Regions from separate parts of the Homo sapiens genome. Here region 1 is linked to region 2. The links are contacts of gene promoters, found by promoter capture Hi-C in blood cells and fetal thymus (Javierre and others, 2016). All regions are on one chromosome and are shown on one strand. Each heading gives the region's core, a stretch centred on a gene start or on the middle of the fragment in contact. The rest is flanking DNA. Distances are from core to core; before and after follow the strand shown. Region 1 overlaps CTSO (cathepsin O). Region 2 holds the start of PPID (peptidylprolyl isomerase D).

Region 1 (5,875 bases), core at 2,891-5,390, 2.8 Mb after region 2:
TTAGGAATATTTATTTATGTGTAAATAGATGGCCATAGCATCTTTATAACAAGTGATCCTAACTAATGAGCCACTTATATGTGCTTGCCGTAATCAGCCCCTTGAAATCTGGAATTAGGTCCTCCAAATAGGCTTTATCCAAGAAAGCTTTAAAACCTATTTTCTACCTCAGTGGTCCCCAAACTTTTTGGCACCAGGGATTGGTTTCATGGAAGACAATTTTTCCACGGACTGGGGTGTGGGGGTGGGGTGAGGAGGATGCGGATGATTTCAGAATGAAGCTGTTCCACCCCAGATCATCAAGCATTAGATTCACATAAGGACTGTGCAAACTAGATCCCTTACATGCACCGTTCCCAGTAGGGTTTGTGCTCCTATGATAATCTAATGCTGCTGCCGATCTGACAGAAGGTGGAGATCAGGTGGTGATGCATGCTCGCAGGCCCCTCACCACCTGCTGTGCAGCCTGGTCGTTAACAGGCCACAGAACAGTACTGGTCCATGGCCCAGGGTTTTGAGACTCCTGTTCTACCTTATATAAAGATGAAAACACGAATTTGATGTTAGATAAGGTTGTTCAGCAGACTTTTTCTGATGAATCTCACTTAAAGCATACATTGACTAAATGGAAATATATCATAAACTTAAAATCATAGGTTATAATTTATTCATCTTCCCATACATTTATCCAATACTTTATTTAATTTCCACTGTGTCTAAAGAACTGGTCTGGGTTTTCTGAGGGATACAGTGGAGAATAAGACGCGTGCTGTCCTGTAAGAAATGTACACAAAAAATGAATATCGTTATGTTTAAGCATTGTATCCTGTAAATAAACATTTTCCTGTAAATAAAAAGAATGTAAAGACTTATACACTGGAGAAATAGATTCTCCCAAGTAGTTCACAAAAGAATGTATTTTTAATTCAATCTTTTTGTGTACATGCTCACACAAATCCTGACTACACATTTCTTATCATACATAGTAAACATATATCTGCAATATGTTTACACACACTTCAGTACACTGTATAGAAAATACTTTGTCTAAGAAACTTTTCAAAAGCTGTACTTTATAAAAGTGTATCCTTAAAAAGCTTTTATTGTTCTAATCCAAGGCTCCTCAACAGTGGCACTATTGACATTTGAGAATGGATAGTGATTTGTTGTGGGGGACCTTCCTCTTCATTGTAGGGTGAGTAGCAGCATGCATGGGCTCTATGCACCAGATGCCAGTGGCATCCCACCAGTATGACAATCCCCAGTATGACAAATGAGGGACAAAATTATCCTCAGTTGAGAATCACTGATCTAAAGTTTACAACTCCTAAGTCTTCCAAGAAATTCTCAGTGATGCTCTTTGTATACAAATATTTTACCTTTTTTGCTCATCCTCAGCTTTACTGCAATTTCCAGAAACGAAAGCACTCCTAAGGAGAACATTTTAAATCTATGTGTACAATTTATGATTTATCCTATGAAACTTCAAAATCTGCAAATGAAAGTTGTTAAAAGTCTGAGTAATGGAACTGCAAGACAAACAATGAGTTTAAAGTGCCGAAGATAAAGTGAGCTTCCAAAGTACCTTAGGTGTCTCTGTTAATTTCAATATAAAACTTATCCCATGGATACATGGGATTCATTGTAAGGGAATACACACATCATTGCGTATATTGATAAAGGCAAATAAATCATCATTAGTGGAAGGAAACCTAGATATCAATGGGGAAAAATAATAGATGTTCACTGCCTTTTCAGCTGATAAAACAGACATGAAGTCCCTTAAAGTTTATAACGCTTCAGTAGATTTCTTGCAGGCTAAATAACTATACCCCTCCACCAAATACTAGTTGTGTGATCTTAGGCAAATCATGTATCTGTTTCTCAGATTTATTCTTCTGTGAAGAGGGCTAATGTTAGCAATTACCTTTATACAGGGCTAAGTTAATTCATGTAAAACACTTAGAATGAATACTTGCATTCAATTTAACAATCCCTTCAACCCTTTGTATTTAGTGCATTCAGTGGCTGAGAACTTTCCTTGTAGAGAAATGAAAACTCAACAGTTTGCTCATAAAAGATTCGCTTACTCCTTTAGAAACAGTTGAGTACATGCAAGAAGAAAATACATGATTTCATTTACTCTTACTTAGTGGCAGTCTGTGAGAAAGATTTCACAGATTTTTCCCCTCAGGGAAGTAGATTAAGGAAACATCTGAGAACCCCTCAAGTCACCCTCCTTGGGTTTCTACTCTTTGATTGTTTTGAACATGACCATTTTCCTCTTAACTTACCCTAGCCGGAGCATTATCTAAGACTGTGGTTACCCACAGCTGGAAAGGTAAGAGGGCCAAGATGCCTGAGATAGCTGGAAGGGCTTTCTGATCCTGTAAGAAAAATGTTGATTTCTGAGGAATTTTAAAACTGCAGCCTAACCTCCTCATGAGACTGGTTCAGGTCTCTTGTCAATAGAGTTATCCTGTTTTATGATCAGACTGAACCCATCCTCTGTTTGTTGTTTGGCCTTGCTGGGATGTTTCATGACTACTCTGCAGTTCTTATCAACCTCCTTTAGCATACTCATGAAGCATCCTAGCTAGGCTAACAGGCGGGAAATTAGAATATGGAAGACACTGCTTAGAAACATATTACATTTAAATCACAGTTCAAATATGTGATCACCTCCAGTACACATGTGCACACACACACACACACACACACACAAAGGCAGCTTTAAGAGATTCTACCTCTTAGAAGGATGGCTGCTAGAAGTCATAATAAGGATAGCTTTAGGGACAGAGTCTTACAGGGACAGGGTCCTAGGTATGAATTTGAGAGGTTATACCTATAATAAATAGAGACTTAGTATGCACAAGACGTACTAATGCCCAAGGGACATGTTTTTCCTAGTTTTATAATCAGGATAATTTCTTCAATCTCTTGGGTTCTGAGTTACCCTTCTGTTCAGGAATCTGGTATCTCCCTTTGTAACTCATTCAATTAAACACATTTAACAACAACAACAAAAAAAAGGTGAAGGTAGTTATTTTTCACCAAATCTGTTCACCAAGGCTGTTCTGATTTATCAGCTCTAATTTTTCTCATGTAAGATCTAATTTTTAAACATCTGCACTTTTCAAAAGTATCAATGAGAAGTTTCCTATGTATTCATCAAAACTTTACGTCTTTCCTCTCATAAATGAAGTTAAGGTTCAGGTCTTTTCTTTAATATTTTATATGACTTTAGAGATGGCTACTCTAAATTTGCTCCCTATCATATCCTCTGTTGAGAACATGTGCCCACTGATCCTTTACCTAACGGAGGTTGTTGGATGTAATGAGCAGCAAGGGCCTCATACAGACTTCAGTTTGTGATGCGTCTATGAAATCTTTAATAGCCAGAATCAAGAGAGACCGGAAAAGTCACTTAAAAGAATTGATAATTCAAGAAATGAAATACAGGGCTTTTTAAATTTTAAATGATGTGAAACCCATGTTAGTGAACTTGATAAGTGTATAGCAAACAAGACAATAAATAAATAAGAGAATAGATATTCTTGGATATACTGATAGTATTATTTTACCATGAAAGCAACAGATTGCTTTCAATAGATAATATTGATCCTCATTTCTAATGACATGAGAAATACTTGCTCCAAGTGAATCTGAAAGTATGGTCTTTGAGCGCCATTTCTATAATCCAAATACTCTGTTTAAAGGAAAAGGAAGATAGAGGATGAGAGTATTTTAACTGAGCATTTATTTTGCCAGTCTCTGTAATAAGTGTTTTCCAATTATTATTTTATTTCATCCTTACATTCTTCCAGATCAGTATTACTCCATTTGTTGATGGAAATAAAGCTCAGAGAGGTTGATTATATAGCCAAAAATTGCACAGCAATGGTAAGACATTTCAAATTGTTGCAAAGTTAAAAAGAGGCCAGGCGCAGTGGCTCATGCCTGTGATCCCAGCACTCTGAGAGGCTGAGGCGGGCAGACCACGAGGTCAGGAGATTGAGACCATCCTGGCTAACACGGTGAAACCTCATCTCTACTAAAAAAAATACAAAAAAAATTAGCCGGGCATTGTGGCGGGTGCCCGTAGTCCCAGCTACTCGGGAGGCTGAGGCAGGAGAATGGGGTGAACCCGGGAGGCGGAGCTTGCAGTGAGCTGAGATCACGCCACTGCACTCGCCTGGGCGACAGAGCGAGAATCCGCCTCAAAATAATAATAATTATTATTATTACGCTGTGTTCAGAAGCCTCCAAGGAAGTACTTTTAATGTTATTAATGGTTTTGCAAAATCAAAACAAGTGGGTAGAGATTAGTGGTAGGGAGAGGACGAAGCAGAGCACTTAGTGGTTTAGAGTATTTTGCTGTTGGCAGGAAGTCAACAATTTGTATAAAGATTGAGTAGCCCTGACATGGGCTATGGAGAGCTGTGAAATGACAGGAGTCATTACACCAGAATAGCAAATGGAATTCTTTTAGAAGTTGGCTCCTGGTTGAACAAGTGGAAGACAGCAACATTTTCAGAAGTCCTGCAGACACTAGTGCCGCTGACATAAAGAACAGTGTATCAAGTGGTAACAAATAGAAAATATATGTGGAGATATTTGTCTTTTCAAACACATGGCACAAGACCAAAACCAAGTAACTGTTATTGGAATCATCATTGAAAATTAGGGACATAAATATTTAAAATAAATAAATAATACATTCATTTATTTCATTATTAAATTGGTGTTATTATAACTACTTCACAACCGGAACACCTAAACTTTGGATGGTGAAATGACACTTATAAGGCAACACAAAAATTAAGAGAAGTACATGGGAACTCCCTGCCAACGATGTATAAGTTTGTTTCATCTGGCATTTGCCAACTTGAGTGGCAATATATTGTTTCTCTCGTAGATGTCACAAATGATCTAGTGAGATAAACTTGCATTAGCTCTCCAACTAAATAGAGTATGTGGCTCAACTACTGCCTCCCCTCCCAGACACACGTGTAGAACCCACACGTACAGCATTGCCTACACTCAAGAGTCTAAAATCCATTCCTAGAATTAGATTTTCTTAATTAAACAATTTGTGTAATTTTAAGGATCTTGAAAGGGCGTACCAGTCTATACCTCATGTGCGTGCGTATGTGTGTGTGTGCGCATTTGGTGTGGTGTGGTGTGTGTGTGGTATATTCCTTTTTTGTTCTGTTAATATGGTGTATCGTACTGATGATTGATTTTGAAATTTTAAACCAACCTAGCATTTCTAAATAAACTTCACTTGGTCACAATATATTGTCCTTAACATATATTGTTAGATTTGATTTGCTATTTTGTTAAGGATTTTGTGTCTACAGCGTATTTATGAGGGATACTGGTATGTAGTTCTATTTTATTTAGATACATTTTTCTGGTTTAGAATCAGGGTAACACTGGTCTTATTTAAGTTGCAGCGTATTCCCTTCTTCTTGATTTTCTCAAAGGATAATATTGGTATTACTTCTTTCTTCATTGTATAAAGTTCACCAAAAAGCCACCTGGGCCTGAAGTTTTCTTTGTGAGTCAGTTTTCACTTACAAATTTAATGCCTTTAGCTGATAAAAGGCTGCTCAAGTTTTCTATTTCTCCTTTCATCTTTGGCAATCTGTGCCTTGCAAAAAGTTTGTCCATTTTGTACAGTTTGCCAATTTATTGTCATAAAGTTGTCAAAATATTATTCTTCTAATGCCTGAAGCATCTGTAATCATGGCTCTTCTTTCATTCCTAATATTGGTAAATTGGTTATTCATGTCTTCTCATTCTTTTCTTATTTTTTATTTATTTATTTATTTTTTTGAGTTGGAGGCTCGCTCTGTCGTCCAGGCTGGAG
Region 2 (6,040 bases), core at 2,855-5,354:
TTAGTATTTTGTATAATTCATTCATTCAAAAATATTTACTGAGCACCTACTATGTGTCAGGCACTGTTAGAAGTGCTGGGGATAGAGTAATGAAAAAAACAAAGGTTCTTGTCCTTGTGGAGCTAAATTTTGTTTTTTTAAACTCCTCTTACTATCTATCATTCCCAAGGAGCTGATTTTTAATGAGTATGTGAAATAAGTAAGTAAACAGTATATTACAAAGTTATAAGTGCTATGGAAAGGTAAATTAGGGGTATCTTTGAGTTTGCTCCTCTTAGTGTTCTTTTTCCTTTCTATTTCAGGGATAAAATGGGCTAGGTTATAAAACTGTTACTCATTTTGAAAACTCAATCTGAAGGAGCTGGACAAAAATACAAACCAAAGCATGACTTCTGATTTCAACATTGAAACCAGTTGATATGGTTAGGTCCCAACCCAAATCTCATCTTGAACTGTAATCCCCATAATCCCCATGTGTCTAGGGAGAGACTCCAGGTGTCTAGGGAGATCGGATCATGGAGGTGGTTTCCCCCATGCTGTTCTTGTGATAGTGAGTGAGTTCTCATGCGATCTGATGGTTTTATAAGAGGTTGTTCCCCTTCGCTCCTCACTCTTCTATCTCGTGCCACCACGTGGGAAGGTCCAAGTGTGCTTCCCCTTCACCTTCTGCCATGATTGTAAGTTTCCTGAGGCCTCCTTAGTCATGTGGAACTGTGAGTCAATTAAACCTCTTTCCTTTATGAATTACACAGTCTCGGGTATTCCTTTATAGCAGTGTGAAAAATGGACTAATACACAAGTGGTCCACACCCACCTGAAGTAGCAGCACTATCTAAAAAACTGGCTTCTCATGGAGAAATAACATTCTCGTTGCCCATTTTCACTTTATAAGTATATATAGTTCCCCTCCTTTGAAGATGCTCTTTACCTGTTCCCTCCTTACCTGTCTTCCTTGCCACATATGCTCCTGTGACTGATCTTACTCATATTTCTGACCTTAGAAAAGGCTACTGTGTTCAGTGCCCCTGCTGTGTGCTGAATGTGATTGTCTTTTTCCTATTAAAACACTAATTATATTGCATTGTAGAGGTTTATTCAATAGTCTTTCTCCCCCATAAGACTGTATAATTTGTGTAGTTAAGGATAAGGGGCCAGGCGTGGTGGCTCATGCCTGCAATGCTTTTGGAGGCCAAGGTGGGCAGATTGCTTGAACCCAGGAGTTCAAGACCAGCCTGGGCAACATGGCGAAACCCCATCTCTACTAAAATGTTAAATTTAAGCTAGTAGATCAGAATAAAAATGTTAATGTGAACTTATTGTGATATATATGAGACAAAATATAAGTTATCAGTTTGCAGCCCAGACATGAGACTGGATTAATGAATGATTTTGATGCTCTTGTTTATCAAGAGACACAGGAGTTTTGTTCTGAGCCGTCCTGGATCTTCAGGGAACCACCATGAATAAATACCATGAATAAACACCAGGAATTGGAGAACATAAGAAATTAACATTTTGTATTAACTTTAATGTGCTGGAATTTGAAAGGATCAGCAAGGAAATCTGATAGGAAATCATTTTGAATTACACTTAAAAATTAAAAAAAAAAATTACCTGGGCATGGCGGCATGTGCCTGTAGTCCCAGCTACTCAAGAGGCTGAGGTGGGAAGATCACTTGGGTCCAGGAGGTTGAGGCTACTGTGAGCTGTGATTGCACCACTGCACTCCAGCCTGGGTGATAGCACAAGACCCTGTCTCAAAAAAAAAAAAAAAAAAAAAAAAAGGATAAGGAATATGTTTTTTCATCATTGTATCATCAGCACTCAGAATGGAGGCTGGCATACAGTAAGAGCTAAATATTTGTCATATAATTGAATCAACTTTTGCTGAGTATCTATGTGGACATGCCTATGTATGTATGCATTTTGTTAATAAGGCAAATTTGTGATTACACAGAAAAATTCAATCAATATAATATCCTTACTGATTTGTCCTAAAATTTCACCGACACCTATTATTTATTTTTTCACAAAAGGTATGTTGGTATTTTAATTAAAAACGACTCTATAAATTGGTTTTATTATTTATTTATTTATTGTTTAGAAAATATTTTTTGTAGAGATGAGGTTTCACCATGTTGTCTGGGCTGGTCTTGAACTCCTGGGCTCAAGCCTTCCACCCACCTTGGCCTCCCAAAGTGCTGGGATTACAGGCGTGAGCCATCACACCCGGCCAACAAATTGGTTTTATTATGAGTAGCTAGTAATACATGTAATTTCTCTTTTACTTTTTAAAATATTATGAAAAAATTTAAATGTGCAAAATAAAGAAGAGTAGTATAATAAACTCCCATGCACCAATCATCTGCCTGGCCCTTATGTTTCATCCACAACCCAACCCACTTACCTGACTCCAGGTTATTTTAAAACAACTTCAGGCACTATAGCATCTAATTTTCAGTAATTTAAAAAAGAGTGTATAAGAATGCTTTAGAGATTACAAGGCAAATGCTTACACATTATCTTTTTCCATTCTCATACCCTGTTCTTTGGCACTTTACCGAAAAGGAAATGAGAAGGGTTCAGAGAAATTAAATGACTTTTCTTTGGTAACATGCCTAGTATACATGTAGTCAGAACTTGAAGCTTTTGCTTTTTTTTTTTTCTTTTTTAACATCAACTTTCGTGCTTAGTCCAGTGTATAACATCACAGGCAAATTCAAATTGAGAATAGGAATCAGTTGTTCTTTAACCGTAACCCTTCTAACTTTTACTTATCCTAAGACCGGGTAGCAAGTAGGGCAGGAGCCTTCATCTAGAGGGATGGTGACAGCTCTGATAGGGGAAAATTAGCACTGGTCTTTCCTTCCAAAAAGCCACTCTGGCTGCTGCTGTTGACACAAGGCTCCTGGCTTTTGAGACATTATTTGAGTGCTGGATTCCAATACTTTTTACTTTCTCATAAGAAAAAAAAATGTGAAGCATCTAAGGATATCTCCTGCCTTATTGATAAAGTAAGCCTCAGGCTGAATCCAAATTGCTGAGCTCCAATAGAACTACAGGGCAAAGCATCTACACAGGGAATTGCCACTCTTCTCCAAAATTAGGCTTTATTAAGAGGCAAGGCTATGTTCTCCTCATATATATGTGTGTGTGTGTGTGTGTGTGTGTGTGTGTGTGTGTGTGTAAAAAGTAAATGTTTTACACAGATCCCCATAAGGGAAAAGTGGGCTATAGTAATACAGTATTTTTTTGTTTTTCTTTTTTTTGGGGGGGGGGGGGACAGTTTCGCTCTGTCACCCAGTCTGGAGTACAGTGGCGCGATCTCGGTTCACTGCAACCGCCGCCTCCCGGGTTCAAGCGATTCTCCTGCCTCAGCCTCCCGAGTAGCTGGGACTACAGGCAAGCACCACCACGCCCGGGTGATTTTTTTTTTTTTTATTTTTAGTAGAGACGGGTTTCATCATGTTGGTCAGGCTGGTCTCGAACTCCTGACCTCAAATGATCCGCCCGCCTCGGCCTCCCAATGTGCTGGGACTACAGGCGTGAGCCACCGCGCCCCGCCAAATACAGTTTTATCAGGAATCAAAACTGTGCTCTCTTCTGGACTCTCAGCTTTAGCTGTTTGGAGCGTTTAGTCTAAGCCTTACCACTTACATTGTAATGTGAAGATCAAATTGTAACGACATGGCAATAATAAGGCTCCTATTGGTTGGGTACCACCAGTTTATGCCAGGCATTGTACTGATTCATGTCTTTAATCCTCAAAACGACCTTCCGAGGTCAGCGTTTTTATTCTTTTTCCAGAGGAGCAAACTGAGTTTCTGAGAAGTCACACCCAACTTGGTGGCAGAGCTGACGCTGGCATGGGGTTGACTCCAAAGCTCTCTACGCCACGAGGGTGGGAAAGACAACGAAACACAAGCGAGAAGAATAATGAGAACTGGGATCGCAACTTCATTAAATGAGAAGCCAGGAACAGGTGGCGGAGGGCACGCGGTTCGCTGCACGGAGTCGCTCAGGCTCTTTGAAACACCGCGCGGGGGAGCGGGGCGGTGCCGGAAGTCAGGCCATGGCTTCCGGTTCTTGCGTCGGAAGTGGCCGGTCAGCGTCGCTGCCGGTCTCCGGCGGAGACGGACTCTGGAGTTTGGGCGGCCCGGGCGGCCACTAGGTACTCTGATATTCCGTACTAAACACGTCTGCAAGTCAAGATGTCGCACCCGTCCCCCCAAGCCAAGCCCTCCAACCCCAGTAACCCTCGAGTCTTCTTTGACGTGGACATCGGAGGGGAGCGAGGTGAGCGGAGTCTGACGCTCGCGGAAAAGCCCCGAGGAGGCGGGGGTTCCCGGGATTTGGGGGATTCCAAGGGCGGAATGCGGCTCCGGCCGGTGACTGCTCAGTTTCGCGGAGGGGATGGCTGCCTAGGCTGGTCCGCCGGAGCAGGCCCGGAGATCTAGGGCTAGATCGATCCAGCGCCCTTGTATCAATGCCATCGGTGGTGCGGAAGTTTCTGGAAATTTCTAGTTCGGGAATTGTGGCGTCCTTTAGGTTTGCCTCCTGATTTGGTGGCACTTCCACGCCACCTTTGCACTACCAAGTTAGCATGAAATATTTTATGTTTGCAATGGGACAGTTCGGAAAGCATATCCTGGGATATGCGTCTGCTGGGCCCCAGGAAACTATATTTGCCACATGAGATAATATATCAGCACGTGCTGTGTTATTTATACGTTAAAGGGACTTGTTTGCTCATTGCTTTTGCCTTATTACTGATTCTTAATTTAGAGGTCCGTTCAGATGAGCAAACATTTTCTCTTAATTTGCCATTGGGAAAATGCGCTCAACGTAGTGATGGTGTTGCCTAGGTTACATAGCCGCTCAGAAGTTCCTAAGGCCTGGTGAATTAGGGAGCGTGTTGCTTTGTAACTGGATTGGCCTTGTTCTGGAACACGTTGGAATTGCTGGCCAGGCAATGTGTTTGAATGCATGTACAGGACACACACACGTTTACACGTACATTCAGTTTGTTGCAACTAGCTAGGGCTAGGTTTAATCTCACCTGTCTTAGCTGCTATCTAGAGGAGGAATTTTTACAGCTTTTGCTTCAGAGGTTGCATGAGGCAGTTTGCTCAGAGCACAAAGGCTGCAGGTATACGTAACACGTGGCAAGTCCGCCCACCCAAAGACTGTTTAATTTTCTCCCGTTGGTTGCTTGGTGATTGGAAATTCTCAGTACCTCTTGAAGAAATTACTCAGGATTTAAAACTATTTGTATTTAATGATATCTCTTACATGGTGCTAATCTTTTGGCTACTATAATTGGTTATGATCCTTAGTGTAATGTTTCAAATCTGTTTATATACATACATGACAGTAGGTAGACTAAATTTGAATATTAGAATAAAATAAGATTCACTAATTCTAGTGAGTATATTCAAAGGAAATGAAGTTTGTATGTCAAAGAGGTATCTGCACTCCCATGTTCATTGCAGCATTATTCATGATAGCCAAGATAATGGAATCAAACTAGGTTTCCATCTACAGATGGATTTTTTTTAAAATTTGATATATGTGCACAGTGGAGTACTATTCACCCATAAAAAATAATGAAATCTTGTCACTTCTGACAACATGAATTAATATGGAGGACATTATGTTACATGAAATAAGCTGGGCACAGGAAGACAAGGCATGATCTCACTTACATGTGGTTTCTAAAAAGTTGACCTTGAAGTAGAGAATGGAATGGTGGATTTCAGGGGTTGGGTAGATGTTGATCACGAGAGACCTAATTTCAGTTAGAAAGGGGGAATAAATTTAAGAGATCTATTGTATAACATAATGACTATAGTTAGTAGCAATGTGTTGTGTTCTTGAAATTGCAAAAAAGAAAAATTACAGTAAAGGGGAACTTGGTAATTCATGATTGATCTGCTACCATAATTATACCAACCTTCTTTTTATCATTTGTCTATTTGGTTGTTTTGCATACTGACAAGATTTTCTTTTCTTTTAGTTGGTCGAATTGTCTTAGAATTGT

Evidence for each region. The method cuts DNA at HindIII sites, captures the fragments that hold promoters and counts their contacts. A CHiCAGO score of 5 or more calls a contact.
Region 1: a fragment that was not itself captured here is called in contact with the fragment with the promoter of PPID in region 2 in 2 of 17 cell types (total CD8 T cells and non-activated CD4 T cells); the score reaches 7.7 in total CD8 T cells.

What each region holds. Positions count from the first base shown.
Region 1 is chr4:155,945,223-155,951,097 of GRCh38, reverse strand. The region is part of intron 1 of CTSO (cathepsin O); the gene reads left to right. Among named protein-coding and RNA genes, the nearest start is that of CTSO, 5.7 kb to the left of the region's middle. The HindIII fragment of the contact is 6,081 bases long and covers 1,100-5,875 here.
Region 2 is chr4:158,721,460-158,727,499 of GRCh38, reverse strand. PPID (peptidylprolyl isomerase D) reads left to right here and starts at 4,104. Exons shown (of 10, transcript NM_005038.3): 1 at 4,104-4,296; 2 at 6,017-6,040. The coding sequence starts at 4,212. RefSeq lists enhancers at 3,526-4,110, 3,998-4,477, 4,111-4,694. The HindIII fragment of the contact is 3,604 bases long and covers 2,649-6,040 here.